Linked DNA regions of Homo sapiens: all the other regions are linked to region 1. Evidence: promoter capture Hi-C in human tissues and cell types (Jung and others, 2019). All regions are on one chromosome and are shown on one strand. The core of a region is centred on a gene start or on the middle of the fragment in contact, and the rest is flanking DNA. Distances in the headings are between cores, read along the strand shown.

What was found. The method cuts DNA at HindIII sites, captures the fragments that hold promoters and counts their contacts. A contact is called where the count stands out against the background at its distance.
Region 2: the fragment with the promoter of ACTR1A here is called in contact with the fragment with the promoter of NT5C2 in region 1 in 1 of the 25 tissues and cell types used here (hippocampus).
Region 3: a contact is called between a fragment that was not itself captured here and the fragment with the promoter of NT5C2 in region 1, in 1 of the 25 tissues and cell types used here (aorta).

Annotation. Positions count from the first base shown.
Region 1 is chr10:103,191,537-103,194,783 of GRCh38, forward strand. It overlaps NT5C2 (5'-nucleotidase, cytosolic II), which reads right to left and starts at 1,736. Exons shown (of 19, transcript NM_001351169.2): 1 at 1,700-1,736. RefSeq lists enhancers at 477-1,165, 1,166-1,852 and a silencer at 1,551-1,830. The HindIII fragment of the contact is 10,406 bases long and covers 1-3,247 here.
Region 2 is chr10:102,500,715-102,503,961 of GRCh38, forward strand. ACTR1A (actin related protein 1A) reads right to left here and starts at 1,998. Exons shown (of 11, transcript NM_005736.4): 1 at 1,886-1,998. The coding sequence starts at 1,933. It also overlaps a transcript of SUFU not described here. RefSeq lists enhancers at 1-482, 1,877-1,976 and silencers at 2,327-2,396, 3,074-3,247. The HindIII fragment of the contact is 1,714 bases long and covers 1,435-3,148 here.
Region 3 is chr10:102,625,926-102,629,172 of GRCh38, forward strand. SUFU (SUFU negative regulator of hedgehog signaling) reads left to right here. Exons shown (of 12, transcript NM_016169.4): 11 at 1,250-1,318. Among named protein-coding and RNA genes, the nearest start is that of TRIM8-DT, 16 kb to the right of the region's middle. RefSeq lists an enhancer at 2,534-3,076. The HindIII fragment of the contact is 4,548 bases long and covers 1-3,247 here.

The DNA of each region.
Region 1 (3,247 bases), core at 486-2,985:
AGGAAGATGTGATGTCTTCTGGTTAAGGGTGGCAGGTACTATAAGGGAATACTATCTATATAAATCTTCTTACAATTACAAACTTCTGAAAACTTGTAGCTGATGGTAAATTTTCATACAATGGCATCAAACCTTTGAACTGAAAGGAATCTTGCATAACATCTCCTTCAGAACCCCCCCCACTCCACCCCGCGCCCCTCCACCTTATTTTACAGATTTGTTGGTTACTAAATCCTAAAACCTTAATTCTGGGTCAATGAGAGTAATGCAGCTACCTATACTGTTGAAATGTAGTGGTTTACACTGCAATGGAAATGCACTTCAGAAATAAGTCTGTGTATGCTAGTATCAACCCTGCATGTGGAGTTTTTATTTTAATTACTAACCAGCTATGTTTTCTTGAACTTAACCTTTTTTGTTCTTTTTTTTTTTTCCACTCTCAGCTCACACCTATTTTTTTTCTCTTTTCGAACTTCACCCTTTCAGGCCTGGATGTCTTCATCTGGATAAATTCTAACCGTTGTTGAAAAGCCATGTGGTAAATATTTTTGAAACCTAAAGCCTTCTCTACGCAATAACACTAAGTTTTCATGGTAAATGACACAGTTTCAATATTCTCCCTTTCACATTATGGTCAGTAGTTTGCATTCGTTGCTTGAAGAGGCGAAATGAATAGTCTACAGACACTGGGAACCAAGTACAGCTCAATCCTGAAGAACTCATCGGCCCCTGGACGGGCGCGCACACACCCCCCTGTAATGGTGACTAGTCATTTCGGGGCGCTGTACTTCAGAGCACGACCCCCCTCAAACATCAAGGCCCTAAAGGTGAAAGCCCAGGAAAACGTCGATTCGGACAGCAGCCTCTACCTGCTGCTTTTAGAAGCTGTGGCCTGCCGGAGTCAAACCCCCAAAACGTTTTTCTTAAACTAAGGGTTCAGGCCTCAGATCGGCATCTCGCCCTCTCCGATTTCAGGAGCCCCGAAAAAAGGAGAAGAATAGGCCGCCACTGAACGGCTCAGCCCCCTGACCAGGAGCTGTCCGGATGTTTTTTGTGGCGGCTTGCAATTCGCTGTGACCTTTCCAGGAAGTGTTGCACACGGGCGTGTGGCAAACGAGCTGGCCGTTTCTCGCGGTCCTGCTAAAACGCTGTCAACCTGGCGCTCCACCAGAGGCCCCTTGGCTTCTCGGGAGGCGACCGAGGAGCTCTGGGGGCGGGGAGGCTTTTACAAGAAGCGAAAAGACGGCCTCAGGGGTGGCCGGGAACAGCCTGGAATCAGCTGGAGGACGTCAGCAGGACTGAGGAAAGGGCTACCACCAGCGTGAGGAAAGGGGGGAAGAGGGCGGAACGCGGCGAACGGCCGCGCTGGGAGGCTGAGGCGGGGTCCCAGCGAGCCGGCGGCTGGGAAACAATGGCGCGAGCGTGACGTGGGCCGGAGGCGTCGCGGCGGCGCGGAGGAAGGGGCTGCCGTGGGGCGGGGGCCGCACCGAGGGAGTTGGGAGGCGTGCGGCGTCCGCGAGCGCGCTGGCGGGGACTCGGCCTAAGGAGAGGGGCCTTGGGGCCATGGTCCCTGGGGGCCGGGGGCGGGGGCAGGCGGCGGCCGCTACCCTGGGGTCGCGTGTTCGGCCGCGCACCTCCCCACCTAGCTCCCCGTTCGCCCGCTCCTTCCCCGCCCGCCCACGGGGCCCGCCGCACTCACCGGCTCCAGCGCACCGCAACAATCCCAGCGCGCAACTGCCGCAGCCGCCTCAACGCGCGCCCTCCCCGCCCCCGCCGCCCGGCACCGCCCCGCGCCGCCCCTCTGCTCGCGCCCGGCCAGGGACCGGCGCGCTGTTCCGTCCCCCAGCTCCGCCGCAGAGTTCGGCGAAGCCGACGCTCCCTGACCGCGCTGCGTCTGTCTGTCCCGCGGGTCTGGAGATCTTCAAACGATGGAACACCGGCTTTGCCCTTCTGAGGGTCTCCATCCCTTGGCATTCTGCCTGCGCCCCTCAGCCTGGCCCTGGGCTAACCTCTCCACTGTGTCTCATTCAGAAGAAGCTTTTCCTTGGGAGGAGAGGGCATCCTTTTTCCCAGTCACAGAATGTTTTGGTCTAATGGACCTCAAGGCCCCTCATGCGTCCACACCCCCATGGCACCCTCGAATCCCCTTGATGGCTAAAAACACCAGCTTTGAAGTTTGTCAGAACGAGTTCCAGTCCCAGTACCACCACTTACAAACTGTAACCTCGGGCGAGGTACCTGACCTCCTATACCTGGTGCCCACATTTGTAGCACCAGGATAGGGAACAACAGTCCCCACATCAAAGGGTGTTGACGGGATGAAATCACACAATATAGGTGAGGCCCTCAGCAGGATCCTGGCACACAGTAAGCACTCAATAAATGTTCACCCCACCACCAGCAACTCAGCAGGAAGACTCCGCAAAAGCAGCTAGCTATTTCCAGAGGACTGAATTCCTTGGTCCGAGCAGCTCTCACCAGTGAGAAAATGTGTCTAAACTTCCACTCTCAGGGCCGAAATTCGATGCCTTGGAGCCACAGAGAACAAACGTCTAATCTCTCCTGGACCTTTGACTTTTCAGATACTTTACTTCTATCACCTCTGCCCAAGGTCTTCTCATTCCACATCAGTGTCTCCCGTTCCTTCCATTGTTCCTCCTCTGCCCTGGTTTTGAGGGTCTTTATCCCTCTCACGCAAATGGTAGATTTGACTGTGATTTCTTTAGAATACATCACCCAAGACTGAACCAAATGTTTGTGGTATCATCAGAGCAAAGCAGGACTATAGCTTCCTCCTTTTGGGACCTATCGCTTTGCACTCCTGCGATAAAGTTCTTGGCACCCATACTGTTGACTCATATTGGGCTTGCAGTCAACCAAAACCTCCGCGTCTTTTTAATAAGTGCTCCGCCAGAGCACTTCTACCCCTTCTTGTGCTTCTCAGCCAACTTCGCTTCAGGTCAGCTAAGGATAGACCTTGGGCCCCTCACCTTCTAAATTTCTCAGGATATATGGAAAAGAGGAATAGGGGTTGGAAGCTGGCATAACACAATCTTTAAACCAAGTGCATTTGAAAAAAGGCCAGGGTGGCGGGGCGTGGTAGCTCACACCTGTAATCCCATCACTTTGGGAAGCCAAGGCAGGTGGATCATTTGAGGTCAGGAGTTCAAGACCAGCCTGACCAACATGGCGAAACCCCATCTCTACTAAAAATACAAAAATTAGCTGGGCATGGTGGCACGCACCT
Region 2 (3,247 bases), core at 748-3,247, 690 kb before region 1:
CAATTGCACTCCAGCCTGGGTGACAAAGCGAGATCCTGTTCCCTCCACCCCCCCACACCAAAAAAAGAGGCGTCTCTGCCAGGCACGGTGGCTCAGGCCTATAATCCCAGCACTTTGGGAGGCCAAGGTAGGAGAATCGCAACAGCCCAGGAGTTTGAGACCAGCCTGGACAACATGGTGAAACCCTTCCTACAAAAAATACAAAAATTAGCCAGGGGTGGTGGCGCGTGCCTGCAGCCCCAGCTACTCGGGAGGCTTAAGCGGGAGGATCACTTGAGCCCAGGAGGTTGAGGCTGCAGTGAGCTGTGATCGCGCCACTGCATTTCAGACTCAGCAACAGAGCGAGACCCTGTCTCCAAAAAAAAAAAAGAAAAAAAAAATGAGCTGTCTCATTGAGCTCAATCCTGCCCCTTTCTAAGGGGGAATAATAAAAACAAAATACCCATGGAGAGAAGGAAAATTTAATGAAAACAACAACAAAAATATATTGGAAAAAGCAAGCAACTTGGAACTGGATCTTAGTCTGATGACTGGCTCCTCAATTCCTAAACTGGATGGTTTGAAATCTGTTATTTAACATCCCTGCATACACTGGGGATAGTAATTCCTATCTACCTAACAGAGCTGAAGCTTAAACGAGAACATTGTAATATGCCTAAGGTCCCAAGAGCTGAATCAACAAAGGGAATCTGACAGAGTCAGCTTACAACAGAGGGAACTGGTAGTTTTGCCTCAATGGAGGGACCTACAAGGGACACAGACAGGGATCAATCTCTGTGGGACCAAAGCTTTGAATCGAAGGCAGAAATGCAGTCGTTTTACAATTTTCTCCTTTCCCCCCAAAATAAGAGCAGTATTTAGATTCTTTCTATTGGTCAATATTGATGCTTCTGCATGGTGGTGCTGGCAAAAGGGATGACGGATAAAGTACTGGATTTAGGGCACCTCTGCTATGTGACCTTGGGCTCACGTTACGTCTTCGCGCTTCAGTTTTCTCATCGGTAACACGAAGATCAAAGTTCCTTTTAAACTATGCGTCCAGTTTTTGTGAGGATCCAACTCGAATGTATGTGAAAACGCCCTGGAAGCGCTAGAGCGCCAGGCAAATATTAAGTTTGGTAATTTTTTCCCCGTAAGAACTAGGCGTTCCAAAGAGGAGGACAACCTCTCTGCTTCCTTTGTCACTCTCCTTTCTTCTCGACCTTTACCAACTTTGTAATTTATAATCACAGTAATAGCTGACATCCTACAGCGGTTTCTGGCACCAGATTCTCGGGCCCCACCCAGATCCACACCACCAAGCCGCAGCGCCGGCTGAGACCGAAGGAAAACTTAGCCGTTCTCCACCCGCGGGCGGGCACTCGCCTCTAGGCCCCACCACCCAGAGTCCCGGAAGCCAATCCCCACAGCCCTGGAGCACTGCCCCGCCCCTTCAAGAGGGAAAACAATATGGCGGCAAGGAAGAATGGCAGGGGCGTGAGCCAATCACCGCAGAGGCCTAGCCTCATCCGGCAAGGCTAAGAGGCGGTATCATTGGCTAAGATGGACAGCCAGAGCAACCAATAGAGCGATCGGAAATGGGGGAGAGGGCGGGCGACGGGAATCTCACACAGCGGTTAAGGCCCCTAGAGCCAAGGGCCCAAGGACTGGCTTGGACTATAACTCTTTCCTTTATCCACTCCAGAGTTCTCCATCCCACTTTTGCTGGCTGGCCGCCTTGCCTGCGGACTATGTGATAAGGGGAGGAAGGAGGCGGCGGTGGCTGAACGCGCCTGACAGGCCGGGCCAGTGACAAAGAGCCGGCGGCTCAGGCTGAACCCCGGGAAGCGATCCTTTCGAGGAGGAGAGCCCAAGTCCCCTTATAGATAGGAAAGACGCAACTCACGTTGTCGATCACGACAGGCTGGTTGGCGATCACATCGTAGGACTCCATGGCAGAGGAATCTCTCCTTCTGGGGAAGGAACTGCCCAGCCGGGTCCGCCGCTAGCGCCACTGACACGCATGCGCAGTCTAGCCGCCGGTTCAGGGCGGCGAGGGAGCGGCCCGACCTCGCCTCTGAAGAACTACAATCCCCAGCAAGCTTTGCGCCTGGGTTAGCGATCTAGCTTGCTTTGTTGCCCGCCTAGTTTAAGATTGGGAGTCGCATTTCCAATGCGCAGTACCCTGGGATTTGTGGTCTCCCTAGATTAAACAGCCAGAGACACAGGTTGATGGTCATGTTGCATGCCTGGATCTGTAGTCCCTTTGAAGGAGTTCGCAGTGCATGCTGAGGTATGTAGTCTTCTCGAGTACTTGTCTGTAGTTCGGTTTGGATTGGTCGTAATTCATGGATGTTTGGATTTTGCAGATCAGCCCTGCCACTCCCCCCGACGTTCCCTTAGACAATATAAGGTTCTCATGTTTTTATTTGGGTCTGTAAGACTTTAATAAACATCTCCTAGCACCTCACACTCTAACAAAAAGGAAATGTTAACACACGTACGCGAGAGGACATATTCCTACAACAAAGGAAAACAATTTAAATTGCATAAAATTAGCTTTAAGTTTAAAAACCTGTACATTGTCGTTGCCTTTTGCATTTTCTTTTTTTCTGCATAACAGGCTAACATTGATCCGAAGATTGGCAATTGGAACTACTGGTATAGGTAATCTTTTGGTCATTAAAACATCATCTAAGGGTTTCAGAAACTGCTCGAGTATCTCTTTAATTTTCATAACGAGCTAGAATTGACACTGATGGTTGAGAAAATGGAGGTGAAGAGAGGTTATGTGTCACTGCTTTCAAATGAGCCCAGTGCATTTTTTTCTCTGGATTATGTTCTCCCCCAGCCCCCTTGAAATTTCAGGGACCTTTTTGTCAATAGCCCTAGAAAACATTAGATTTATTATCATCTATTAATACTAACGCCCCATGGATGAATGAATCAATCCATTGTCAGATTTATGTTTAAATCCTAGTTAGCAGCGCGTCAGCAAAACAGTAACAAATCCTTTGTTGGCGCACTTCTCGCTGCTTTCGTGGGACCTTAGCACCTCAGAGGGTGCTCAGCATCTCTAAACTTGGGTTCCTCCTAACACTAGGGGGAGACCAAGAGCCTTGGGACACTCCCAACACAGGGAGGGGAGGCGGGGCCTATTGTCAAGTCACACCTTCCCTGCCTGTGACTGGCACAGACATTAGCCAATGGGTGCTTGGATAGGGTGCGCCGGCGCCCCGCCCCCCTTAGCGCCCCGCCGCCCCGAGGC
Region 3 (3,247 bases), core at 271-2,770, 570 kb before region 1:
GGGGAAACCTGGTGGGTATTTTTTCAAGTTCTCAATTCTCCTCCTCACAGGGAGGGTTTCCCCTCAGAGGAGCCCCTCACCTGGATCTTCACCCCATTATCTTTCTTCCTTTGTGCCCTACCTGGGTGCTCAAGGTGTACGGGAGAAGACAGGTAGAGCTGTGGCCTGGGGGTACAGAAGGGTCTGCAGTGGAGGGAGGCTGGGAGGCCCTGGGGACAAGGACAGGGAGGGGGAGGGGTGAAGGAAGGGGTCACAGTTGGAAGAGGAAAGACACCCTCACCCAGGGCGTGGTGGGGTGCAGACCTGGGATCAGCTTGGCCTGGCTCTGCCTAGCAGCCTGACGAGAGGGGTGGGTGGGGAAGAATGGCCCAGCAGATTGAGGAAGGCCGGTTTTAGAGGGCCTGAGAGCCCTTGGACGTTGGTATTGGCTGTGAAAACTTCTTTAGCGGATGAAGTTGGTGTTTGTGCCAGCCAAATAGTGGGGCCAGACTCAGCATCAAAGCGAGAGGCAATGAGGTGTCAGACTAGAACAGCAACGTGGAATGCTGGGAGGTGACCTAGAGAAGAGGAACCTCAAAGAAGGCTGGAGGAACTCAGTGGCTGATCGAGCACAGCAGGTCAGGGGCTTGGGAGCTTCCAGCCTGGGAGGATGTGGCTACTGTGAATGGGAATGGAAGTTGGGAGTCCCTTTGTCATCTGTAAAATGAGACGTTGGTCCACAATCTCCAGATTCTCCAGCTCAGACATTCTTGGATGTACCTTCCAGGGCACTTCCAGATTCCAGATAGGGCTTGTATTCCAAATCCAAACAGTTTCCTTTTGTCCTTCTACGGTGAGGGGCAGAGGGGGACACTAGAGCCTGACTGGGCAGCAGCTTTAATTTAATTTTTTTTCCTTTTAATTTTTCTTTTCTGTTCCTTTTTCTTCCTGAGATTCCTTTTTACCGGCCCCACCAGTGTTCATCTCCCTTCTGGGAGCAGCATTCCCAGCTCTCCCAGTGTCCTCCCTCCCCTCCCCATTGTCCCCTGACCCCTTTCCTTCTATGCCTCAGTCTGATATTGCAGGGAGGTGAGGGTGTGGGGGGAATGACAGCTGGGGACAGGCCTCAAACACTTCCCTGTGTCCCTTGAACAGATCACAGTGAGCTCATCTCTCCTCCATGGTCAGAAGAGAGGTATAACGCTTGGTGGTTGGCAAAAAGATCATACATTTAAAAATAATAATAAAAGCCTGCCTTGTGCCTTCACAGATTCTGTTGACCGAAGAGTTTGTAGAGAAAATGTTGGAGGATTTAGAAGATTTGACTTCTCCAGAGGAAGTAAGCTTGTTTGACTTTTCCTGACAACAGGTCCCGTCTCTGGGACCATGTGTGTGCGTGCGTGTGCACGTCTGTGCATGCATGTGTGCGTGTGTACCTGTGGTGCGTGTGTGCTTGCATGTATCTGTGTGGCTGCATCTGTGGGCTCCTCCCCAAGGTGCAGGGATAGGCTGGAGAGGAGACTGTAGATTTCTCTTCTGTTTCTATGCACCCTCACCATCCCCTGCCCTACCCCCAGCCCTTGTAAGGACACCCAGCAAATCGTCTGAATTGCCAGCTCCTGAGAGCCTCATTGAAGAGGAAGCCAGGGCCTTCAGGCTAGTACGAGTTCTCCCCAGCCCCTGCTGTTCCCTGGCAGATTCTGAACAGAACGCCCATGTCTGTTGCCAGAGAACATTCCGCTGGGGAGTTCTGGTGGGCAGCAAGGGACTCCTGCTCTCGCCTCGGGCCACCCAGGAGCCACTCTCCCTTCTTCGTCCTCCAGCCATGAGCTGTGCCTCTTAGTCTCCCTCTTCCAGCCCTGGCTCAGAGCTGGAGGAGCTGGCAGGCCAGCTGTGGCTGTGCCTTCTTTAGCTGCTCCTCTGGGGTAGAGGAATGGAGTCCATAATCCCCTTTGTTTTTTCTCCCTTGTTCCCGGCATCCTTATTTGCGAGGGCTTACCTCATCCTGGAAAATCCCTTCCCCTCCCCCGCTCCTGCCCGCAGCACCCCAGTGGGATGGGAGCTTTCCTGGCCCCAGTGCCCCATGGGTTAGTGAACTCTAGCAGGCTGGCCGGGCCTCTGGAGAGCTCTCCTGGGCCCTGCCCTGCCTGTGGCAGAGGCAGACCCTTCCCTTGTCCTGTCTGCCAGGAAATGTGCTTGGGGGAGAACTCCTTCGCCTCCCAGGGGCCAGGCTTTCTACCAAGAGGGAGGCCAGGCGGGAGCTAGGTTCCAGCCAGGGCTGGAGCTTCCAGCTTCCAGGGCTCCCTGGGCTGCAACAGCCAGGACACAGGCCTCTGGTGTTTAGGAAGCTGAGGGGAGTGCACAGGGCGGGACCGTCCAGTCCAGGTCTCCAGTTGGACAGGAACTCCCCAGAGCCAGGGTCACCTCAATAGAGCAGGGTCTCCTCTGTCCTCTGGGATGCAGCTTGAGAAATTTGTTCATTTATATATTCCAAAGCCATCAAGCACCCAGTCCATGCCAGCCAATCAACCCCCACAAGTCACTGGTCCCTGAGTCCCAGCTCCCCATTCAGTCAGACCAGAGCCAGCTGCCCAGAAGCGCTTCCGGAGAGGCCTTGTCGCACTGGGATGGCGCTGTGCCAGGCTGCTGCTTTGAGCTTGGGGGTAGGAGGGGGACAGTCCAGGCAAGAGGGACAGAAGCCTGGGGGAGCAGAGGAAAGTAGGTCACTAAAAATGACTTTTTTCTTTTTTTCCTTTTCTGTCCAGAGGCTGTCCCTACACCCTGCCTCACTCGCCACTTTGGTCCTGGCAGAGACAGTCCCCCAGCAGAGGGAGCGAAGAGGGAGGCAGCCAGGAAGGGTCAGGCTCGTCTGCCTCCAGCCCCAGACCGAGGCAGGCTGAGAACACTGTTCTCTCCTTTCCACCCTGCCCTGACTTCCGGCCTAGCCAAATTAGAAAAGACAGACCCTGGGCCGGGCGCAGTGACTCATGTCTGTAATCCCAGCACTTTGGGAGGCCGAGGCAGGTGGATCACCTGAGGTCGGGAATTTGAGACCAGCCTGACCAACATGGAGAAAACCCATCTCTACTAATAATACAATAATTAGCCGGGCTTGGTGGTGCATGCCTGTAATCTCAGCTACTCGGGAGGCTGAGGCACGAGAATCGCTTGAACCCGGGAAGCAAAAGTTGCAGTGAGCCGAGATCGCGCCATTGCACTCCAGCCTGGGCAACAAGAGCGAAACTCCGTCTCAAAAGAAAAAGAAAAG